Linked DNA regions of Homo sapiens: regions 1 and 3 are each linked to region 2. Evidence: promoter capture Hi-C in human tissues and cell types (Jung and others, 2019). All regions are on one chromosome and are shown on one strand. Each heading gives the region's core, a stretch centred on a gene start or on the middle of the fragment in contact. The rest is flanking DNA. Distances are from core to core; before and after follow the strand shown.

Region 1 (3,259 bases), core at 228-2,727, 35 kb before region 2:
CAAGTGTACCCAGATGGTCCTTGTTGTGCTGGGGGCTTAGCCAGCTCCAGGAAAACTCTCCCCACGTGCACATTGAGGGGCAGAGGGTTGGCCAAACCAAAGCTCAGATGATTCACTCTCCCAACAATTTGGGAGGGCTCAGGAATCTCTGAAAAAACTCTTTTTTCCTACATCTATAATGGCAAGAGTCAAAATGGAGGCTTACATGACAAAATGGAGACTGGAGAAGGAGTCATTCGAAGAGAGAGATTGAAAATATGAAAGTCTGTTGCCCCATTTGAATCCTTTGAGAGTGCTGGAGCTAGGTCACAAAAGAAATAAAGACCTGCTAAACTTAAGGGGAAAGACTTTGCTGAGATGACCATGGAATGGCCACAGACTCCCAAGCAAGCAGGTCTCTATAGTTTGAGCTGGGAGCTTAACAGGGAGCTGTCAGATGCAAATGGCAATATGAACCAAGAATGTCAGATCCTGGAAAAAGAATAAAATAATACATTGAAAAATACTTCTTTTGAATCTGTTGGACATTTTGACAAGCAAGAGCGATTCACTGCATAAAATTGTAACCTCCCATGGAGAAAGAAGGCAGGTTAAGAGCCACCCTATGTCTATAGTTGTATCTGACTTTTTCAAGTAGGAGCTAAAACTGAAAAGAAAAGCAAGAATGCTGTTGTTTTAGAAGCAGGCTGTGTGAACAGACCATGTACTAGCAAATGTGGGCACATGTGATCCATTTGCTCAGTGGCTTTGTAGCCCCCTCCAACAAATCATAATATTGCTCAACTGGGAAAATGCACTGTAATTACACAAATCTTAGGAAATTTTTACTGTGAATGCATGTTTGTTTTGAATGAATACAACACATTTGGTTTTTTAACATTTTTTTCCCTCGCAGGGTATGTATTGATTAATTCGGAGATAACTTTTTTCTAAAATTATTATCTGCACTTTCAAAGTCACAATGTTAACTCTTTGAGCTGTTTGGACATTTTCATTATGACAATGAAGACAGAATTTAAGAAATCTAAATTCAGCTTTATAAATCAGTGTGTTTACTGGATTTTTTGGTACCACATAAAGGCGTATGAACTTACACTATGATCCATGAGTAAATGCATGGACATTTATTTTATTGGGCTTGTTAGGGAACATGAACAAGGATGTTCAGTATAATGTTTCTTAATGTGGCCAAGGTTGGAAGCCATTAGAGTGTCCATCCCCGGCAGAATTAATAGGTGAAATGTGGAGAATGAACTTCCTGGAGTACCCTACAGCAGTTACAATCAGTAGATCAGATGTTCATATAGCAACATAGATAGATCTTAGAAACACAGTGCTGAATTTTAAAAAAAGGAAGAAACAATGGGATCTGTAACATAATACTAGTAACAACAATTTTAAACACATGCCTACAAAACAACAGTGCACATTTCCAGGAAGACATAGGAACAAAACAATACTCATTAAATATATTAGAATGGTCTTCTACAGGGAGAAGAATAATGAGAGCAGGGAATGGAGATAAAAAGAGAATTAAAAAAGAACATTTTATAATACCTTTTCAATTCTTTTATGCGTACTTCATATTTAAATTGTGATTTTTTTCCCCTTCTAAATCAGGAAAAAAAGCCTCCCACCCACAATATTCTAGGGAGAGAGATGAATATTCACCATCTAACTTCTGAAATTGACATTTATTTTGTGATTCAAGAAGAAAAGGTGGTAGGAATAAATAACATAACGAGGGAATCTAATCCATAAAACTGGGAAAACAAATTAGATTTTATTAATAAAATCTGAACTGGGTACAATCATCAGCTTGTGAGATTTACTCACTTGGTGATCTTAATGTGGATGGGGAAGATTTTTAATTAGTAACTTTGCATATTTTTATGGGAATTAAAAATTTTCCCCTGTAGTTTGGGTACGCATTCACCACTGGATGCAAAACTCAGTGCTCAGACGTGACATTTTCATTCAGTAATGCTTTTTGGACACAAATAGCAATGGAACTCACTGAGAAACCCTACAGGATGATTAGTCCCTAATACTGTTTTCTGCTTTTGTTTTTATGTAGCCCTGGGATTTCAGCTGTATCTGTGTCTTCTCAGTTGATTTTTAGCAGCCAAGACAAGATTGTCAGCAGCACCTGGGTCCAATTGAGCCCCCTGTTGAGGCAGGTCTTCCAGCTCTCACCAGTTGGTAAAGGGATCTTAAGCTGGCCTATTACTCAGAGCTCCTTGTGGCCTTCCTAGGCCATGCCTAGAGTTGAGCATTCAATTCTTGCTTTTGAGTGAGAAGTCAGAACCCCACAGTGAGGCAGAGAACTCACCACACTCCTTGTTGAGAATTTCAGTGGCATCAGTGGGCATCTCTGCTGGGTAGCACCATCAAACACGTGCAATTACCTCTCTACCACTCCCATCTTGCCCGGAACCAAAGAGGCAGCACTCAGCACTCATTGTCCTAATTCCCTGCTTCCTCAAACTGGGTGCTGAGTGTCTTTCAATAAGCATTTTCTCAACCTACAGAGGGAAAGAAGTGTGGTGTCAGTAAACTTAGGAAGCAGAAGCTACAAAGATGCATATGGGTAGCAAGGCCCGCAGTGCTGTTTCAGTTATCTATTTCTAGAAAACACAGTGGCCTAAAACAAGAACCATCTTGTTTGCTGGAGATTCTGAAGGTCAGAAATGCAGACAAGACCCAGCTGGGCGGTTCTTCTGTATTGCTCTGTATTGCAGTTCATGTATTGTCTCTTCACTGCATTTGACTGGTGACTGGTGACTGGGCTGGGTTGGAAGATACAGATCGCATGTCTGATTGCTGAGGGCTCCTCCCTGTGGCTTATCTCTCTCACGGTGTATTTTCTTCGTATGATCTCTCTTTCCAGCAGGATGGCCTGGACTTCCTCACAGTATGGTGGCTGGGGAGCAAGAGGAAAAGGCCCAATGTGCAAGCACTTATGGAGCCTCTGCCTGCATCACATTTGCTAATGTCCCATTGGCTAAAGCAAATCACATGGCCAAGCTCAAGTCTATGTGGAAGGAGACTACACAAGAACAGAAATACTGGGAGGCATAATTCTCCAACAGCTGCAAAGTAACAGTCTATCACAATTTCTAATTCCAGCTCTTGCAGCCAGAAGACACTGTTGGGTTTTTAGATGCAGGGACAGCCCAGAGATCCAAGCAGAGGAAATACGTTTGGCTCTGGGAGAGTCTGGAGTCTTATTAGCAGCTAAAGAGCCTGACTGGGTTGT
Region 2 (3,428 bases), core at 835-3,334:
CAGCTCCATTCCTCCACAGCAGAGCTTCTCTGTGGATTCTTCCGTGACCTACACAGGGCTGCCTGGTTTCCAAGCCCTTCCCTAGGGCTCCAAACTAGGGTGTGTGTGTGTATGTGTGTGTGTATGTGTGTGTGGTGTGCTGCATGTGTTGTGTGAGGTGTGATGCGTGTGTGTGTGCAGCCCAGGTTTGGTCTGTGGGAGGGGTGTGTTATGTGGTGTGTGTGTGGTGTGGTGTGTGTGGTGTGGTGTGCATGGTGTGTGTGGTATGTGTGGTGTGTGGTCTGGTGTGTGGTGTATGTGTGGGTGTGGGTGTGTGTGGTGTGTAGGGGTGTGTAGGGGTGTGTGTGGTATGTGGGTGTGGTGTGTGTAGTGTGTGTGGTGTGTGGTGTGTGGTGTGGGGAGTGTGGGGGTGTTGTGTGTAGTGTGTGGTGTTTGTATGGTGTGGGTTGTGTGTGTGTGTGGCGGGGGGTGTGGGGGAGTGTGGGGGGTGTGTATGTGGCATGTGGTATGTGTGTGGTGTGTGGCATGTGTGTGGTGTGTGTGTGGTGTGTGGTGTGTGTGTGGTGTGTGTGTGGTGTGTGGCATGTGTGTGGTGTCTGTGTGTGGTGTGTGTGGCGTGTGTGTGGTGGGGTGTGGGGGGGTGTGGGGAGTGGTGTGTGTGTAGGGTGTGTGGTGTGTGTTTGGTGTGTGTGGTGTTTGGGTGTGTGGTGTGTGTGTGGTGTGTTGGTGTGTGGTGTATGGTGTGTGTGTGTGGTGTGTGGTGTTTGTGTATGCGGTGTGTGTGGCGTGTGTGTGTGCGTGTGTGGTGTGTGTGGTGTATGGTTTGTGTGTGGTGTGTGCGGTGTGTGTGTGTGGTGTGTGTGGTGTGTGTGTGTGGTGTGTGTGGTGTGTGGGTGTGTGGTGTGTGGTGTGTATCTGTGCGTGTGTGGTGTGTGCTGTGTGTGAGTGTGGGGTGTGTGTGTGTGTGTGTGTGTGTGTGTGTGTGTGTGTGTGTGTCGGGGGAGGGGTATACGCAGTTTCCGTGCGGAAAGATGGTGTCTTTCCTTCACAGGGCTGCGCGGGCACCCATCCCCGCTGCAAAGCGCCCGGGCCAGGCGCGGCTTGCTCCGGGTCGGGGCGAGCTCGCTGCCCTCTGCGGCAGACAGCGATGCGCGCTCCCCGCCCCAGCTCCCGGCTCGCCCGGCGGCCCGCGCGCCCTCCCGGTGCAGCATGCGGGCGCTGTGACGTTCTCGGATAAATGCCGTGTAACTGTGTAGGCGAATGAGAGCTAAAAATAAGAACGGAAAATCTATCATTAAGGTATCATTGCGCCAGCGCAGCTATTTGAAGGCTCCCATGGTCCCCGGCGCCTGCGTTTGAAGCCCGCCTTCAGGCTTTGGGGGGTATTTGCAGAAAACTCCCAGCAGCGGCTCGCCAACCAGACCTCAGGGTGCACGGGGGGTGGCGCCGGTAATTATGGCAACTCTCAAAATAAAATAATATAAAATAAAGTAACCAACGTTCACCAACCACCACCCCATCTCACCCCCTGTACTGTCCTCAGGTAGCTGGGGAAGCCGCCGGGAGTGCAGCCGGATGCTGGAATTCAATGTGACCCGGCTGACTATGCAAAGACTAGGACTGGACGCTTTTGCAGCTCTATTTCGCCACCCACCTTCCTCCTTCCACCTCGTATTAGAAATAAAGTGGGGGGGGGGGGCGAGCCTTTGGAGGAGAAAATGACAACTGGCACTTAACCCCAGGTCTACAGTGCGCCGCGGTGGGGCGCAAAGACGCAAACTCCCGGGATGGCGAGCCTTCGGGGTTTCATTGGGTTAAACGAAAATTGATCTGATTTGCTTTTTAACATCCGAGGGAGAGAAGGGGAGATGAGGGGAGGGAGGGCAGGGTTTGAGTGTGTGCGTGTGCGTGTGCGTGTGTGTGTGTCTGGGGAGGGGGAGGAGGCACCAAGTTGCAGCCTGCGCGCGGCTCTGCGCCTCGGCGGGGCTGCGTGCGTGTGTCCCTGTCCGCGCTGCTGAAACGGGCTCTTCGAGGGATCGGCGTCACATGACTCCGCCTGCCCCTCGCCAGCGCGCAGATCGCCAGTCCCTCAGTTTGCCCGGCACCGGAGGAGGGTCGGGCGGCATCTTCCGGGTACTGGGGCTCTGCGGAGCGGAGAAGAGGTTCCAGCGGGGAATGGTATATCTGGATTCAAGAAGCCGCGGCTCGGCGCCAGATCCTGGAGTGTAGATATTTGGGGGGAGGGGAGAGCTAGAGGGAGCGAGCGAGCGAGCGCCAGAGAGAGGCAGCGCGCAGCGCGCACGGACGGGGGGCTGCTGCGCGGAGAAGATGTAAGCGCGTGGGGTCTCGCTGGCCTCTGAGCACCATGCAGAAGGGGATCCGGCTGAATGATGGCCACGTCGCGTCCCTGGGACTGCTGGCGCGCAAGGACGGCACGCGCAAAGGCTACCTGAGCAAGCGGAGTTCGGACAACACAAAATGGCAAACCAAGTGGTTCGCGCTGCTGCAGAACCTGCTCTTCTACTTCGAGAGCGACTCGAGCTCGCGGCCCTCGGGGCTTTACCTGCTGGAGGGCTGCGTCTGCGACCGCGCGCCCTCCCCCAAGCCGGCGCTGTCGGCCAAGGAGCCGCTGGAGAAACAGGTGAGGCGAGCGTCGCGTCCTGACCTCCCTGCGTCCCGGCCGCGGCCCTGGGGGCTCAGGGCCTTCGGCTGGCTGATGGCGCTTGAACTTTGGCCCCTCTACTCTTGGCGCCCTAGGCGCTCTCTGCACCCTCAGCGAGAGGGGAGGCTTGCTCCCAGCCAGGCGAGTGACTGCGGCGGGCAGAGGGGGCAGGGATTGAGGGCGGGGAGTAGATGTGGGCTGCGGCTGCCCTTCGCCGGACGAGCCCCGTGGGAGGCGGGTACAGAGGGGCCGACACCTGGAGATGCAGAGGAAGATGGGGTCCTAAGGACCAGAGACGATGAGTCTGGACACACGTCCAGCCAAAAATGGTGCTCCCAACCCCCACTCCCACCGCCCAGCCCTAATAGCCCCGATCGTCTGTTCTACACCGGGAACGTGTAATTCCCCGCGCTTAGGCATGGGAAGGGCAAGACGGAGGCGTCCGAGCGCTGCCAGCCCTTGCCTCGCCGCAGCTGAGGGCGGAGAGCGGTCTGCGCTAGCTCCTCGGAGTTGGGCTGGGGTTATGGGGCTACACGGGTCGGTTCGGTACCATCGAGCGGTGGTGGGCTCCCAGCTGGCGGCCGCCGGAGCAACAAGCCCAAAGATTCCCAAGGACCGCTCTGATGCGCCGGGGCTAGGGCCAGGGCTGCTGCGGAGGCAGCGGGACGAAGTGGGCGCTTCTCTCCTCCCCCGCCCCCTGCGCCGCCGCCGCCGCCGCAGTCGCGGCTATAGCGCTGCGCTCTGGTTTCCTGAGCTGCAAGGCTGA
Region 3 (3,317 bases), core at 340-2,839, 33 kb after region 2:
AGGATAAGGGAGGATAGGGAAGGGAAGGGAAGGGAAGGGAAGGGAAGGGAAGGGAAGGGAAGGGAAGGATTGGGAAGGGAAGGATAGGGAAAGGAAGGGAAGGATAGGGAAGGGAAGGGAAGGATAGGGAAGGGAAGGGAAGGATAGGGAAGGGAAGGGAAGGATAGGGAAGGGAAGGGAAGGGAAGGATAGGGAAGGGAAGGGAAGGGAAGGGAAGGATAGGGAAGGGAAGGGAAAGATAGGGAAGGAAAGGGAAGGGAAGGATAGGGAAGGGAAGGGAAGGATAGGGAAGGGAAAAGAAAGGAGGAAGGAGAGGAAAGGAAAGGAGAGGAGGATGGAGGGAGGGTTGGAAGAGGGACAGAAGGAGGGAGGGAGGTTAGCAGAGCAGCCTGCAGATGAGGCGGACGCCTATTTTACAGCACTCTGACGGGGTCCATTAGTAAGAAGAGACTAACGAAGCAGCTGAATTTTCACACCCATGGGGTGAGGGGAGTTGTGGTGGTACAAAAACAGACTCCTTCATGCTCTCAACTGAATTTCCTTTACAAGGAAAAACAAGTCTCTTGAGAAGTTGGAAAAACTTAAAAACCTGATATTCATTTTCATCACAGAAGCACAAAATCTTATTATACTTTAATAGGATAGCATTATAAACTAAAGGATTCTCTCTTCTAGCCCTGTTATTTATCTTTAAAAGTGGGTGGGAACAAGAACACAGATGTGCTTTCTGGATCAGGCTCGCACTCGGGCCCACCGCCCCGCCTTGCTCCAGCTCTCTCCCTGCCTGGACTGCCCCCACCTCTACCCTGCCAAGCCCTCTCACTCTGCAGGGTGCTGGGAGTCAGGGCCTTCTGCTAAGTGCAGGTGGGTGGGTGAGCCCCTCTCCCGGTCAGTGCCCTGCTTGGTTCGCCAGAGGACAAGGAGTCAGCATCTTACCTGCCATGTCCATCTGTCCACAGCTACAGGACCCTCGCCACAGAGCATGAGGCATTAATGCAGAAATACCTGCACCTGCTGCAGATCGTGGAGACAGAGAAGACCGTGGCCAAGCAGCTTCGGCAGCAGATCGAGGATGGGGAGATCGAGATCGAGCGGCTGAAGGCAGAGGTGACTGCGGGCTGGGGGGTGGGCCCAGGCCCTAGGCACAACATCTCAAACCCTGGGCTCCTGCAGGATTGGGGAGCCACATGACAGGCAGGGAAAGCAGCTCCCAGATGCAGTTCTTCCAGACTCCAAACTTAGGACGTGGTGGTACTGGCAGAATGAGAAGGTCCTGTGGTCAGACTGGGTTTAAATCTCACCTCTGTCACTTATTGACTGCAACCTGGAACAAGTCCCTCAATGTGCCTGTGCCTCAGTTTCTGCAGCTGTAAAACAGGGCTTTCTATAAACACCTGACCAGGTCGTGAGGATTGAGTGAGATTATCTACGGGCAAGCTCCTAGTTACTGTGTCAGCCACTGTATTGACTGAGCATTCTGCATTATTAGCCCAAGACTCTGGAGAGCGCAGGGTCACTGGTAGGTCATTAGAGTGTGGGCTTCTGCTCAACTCCAAGGCAGCCCCTTCCCTCCATCCATCTTGATGAAAGCTCCTGCAGCGGCCCACCAGCCAGCATTCTGGAGGCGGCATTGTTGCCAGACTAAGCCTCTTTGCACCTGGCTTCCCCAAGTGTGGTCCATGAAGCAGCAGCATTGGTTTCACCTGGAGCAGAATCTCAGGCCCCACCCCAGATCTTCTGAATTGGAATCTACAGTTTAACAGCCCAGGTGATTCCATTTACATTAAACCTTAGGAAGCACTAGCTCTTAGTCCCTTAGATGCCCCTCACCAGCTATCAACCCTGGCACAGAATGATCTGATCATCTCTTCCCCTTATCACCTCACCAGCATGCTCAGAACCATCTGGCCATATCATACAAGGACCACAGATTTTGCACTGAGGAGGGGAAAATGAAAACAAAGACTCCTGAAGTCAGCTGGGTATCTAATTTGCAGGGTCTGATGTGAGGTGAAAATGCAAGGCCCAGGCCAGGGAAGTCATTCTCCTGTCCCACAGCCTCCTGACTTGACTCATGGCAGACAGGCAGCACCCAACCTCAACCTGTAGCCTCCCCTGCCCTGACTGCCAGGAAGTGCGCAGTAGCTGGACTGGGGTGGGCAAGGAGCTCCTTCTGAGTCACCCACGTAATGCACCCTGGCACTGCCAGCCTGCAGCAGGGATGGCTGTCGCCTTGCCCTGCGACACCATGGGGCGCACACTGGACCCCAGCCTGCACCTATGCCCAGGCATCTGCTGAGGGTTGGGGGTGATGGTGGACTGTGAGTCTCCTCAGCTGACTCAACCGGTTGCTCCCTGAGCAGATGGTAGCAGAGGTCTTGGGGTCTGGGATGCCAGAGTGTGGGGAATAAGCAGCCAAGGACCCATCCAAGGAGCTGAAAAAGCGGTGGGAGGTAGGAACATGCATGAACCAAGGCTCCAAGAACCTGCAGTGTGCTCATGGTCCCATCAAATTCCACTCACTAAACACAATTCAAAGAGAAAACTATCTTAAGAATTTCAACAAAAGAGCTTAAAGTCCCGAATGCAGAGCCTTCTGAGCATAGGGCCCCATCACACCTGCGAATCCAGCTCTGCCTGGAATGTTCAAAGATCTAAAGCCAACAATTTCACCTTGTTCCGCAGCAGCCAAGCCCTGAACTAAGAGTAATATCAACTTGCAACCTCAAGGTCAACAAAAATTCCAGATTCTACACATCTCTGCTAGCCTGATAACAGGCACCTTCACGACATACTTTCATTCCCCACAACCATCCTGATAGGATCAGTCACCTGCATTTCACAGGAGAAACCAGACTCAGAGAGCCCAAGTCACTTGCCCAAGCTCACACAGCTGGGAAGTGGCAGAGCTGAGACTGGAACCCAGGTCTCCTGTCTGCTTGCCAGTCTTTCCACTCTACTCTGGTAGCCTCTTCCCACAGGGCTACCAGAGCTCAGTTCAGGGATGTCCCCACTCCGGCCCACCCAGTTCATTCTGGGATCAATCCTCGCCCAACACAGATTGCTAAATCTAAACTGAACTCCTGTATGGGATCAGGGAAGGAGTCCAGCCCCAGTACCAGATTATTAGCTTCATGATCAAGAGTGTCCAAGTGTCATTCATTCATTCACTTACTCACTCACTGAAGATCACCTACCACTGACCTCATCCTTTTCCCCAAGCACCACCTCTTCAGTCACTGTGGGCACCAGTGCACTATCCGCCTCCTGGCCTTTGCACATGCTGGTGCTTCTGTTTGGAATGCCCTTTTCATCCC

What was found. The method cuts DNA at HindIII sites, captures the fragments that hold promoters and counts their contacts. A contact is called where the count stands out against the background at its distance.
Region 1: a contact is called between a fragment that was not itself captured here and the fragment with the promoter of RASGRF1 in region 2, in 2 of the 25 tissues and cell types used here (H1 embryonic stem cells and psoas muscle).
Region 3: a contact is called between a fragment that was not itself captured here and the fragment with the promoter of RASGRF1 in region 2, in 3 of the 25 tissues and cell types used here (IMR-90 fibroblasts, heart right ventricle and spleen).

What each region holds. Positions count from the first base shown.
Region 1 is chr15:79,124,321-79,127,579 of GRCh38, reverse strand. No RefSeq gene overlaps it. Among named protein-coding and RNA genes, the nearest start is that of RASGRF1, 35 kb to the right of the region's middle. The HindIII fragment of the contact is 4,826 bases long and covers 1-3,259 here.
Region 2 is chr15:79,089,436-79,092,863 of GRCh38, reverse strand. It overlaps RASGRF1 (Ras protein specific guanine nucleotide releasing factor 1), which reads left to right and starts at 2,084. Exons shown (of 27, transcript NM_001145648.3): 1 at 2,084-2,641. The coding sequence starts at 2,366. The HindIII fragment of the contact is 16,697 bases long and covers 1-3,428 here.
Region 3 is chr15:79,056,124-79,059,440 of GRCh38, reverse strand. RASGRF1 (Ras protein specific guanine nucleotide releasing factor 1) reads left to right here. Exons shown (of 27, transcript NM_001145648.3): 3 at 960-1,107. Among named protein-coding and RNA genes, the nearest start is that of RASGRF1, 33 kb to the left of the region's middle. The HindIII fragment of the contact is 6,925 bases long and covers 1-3,317 here.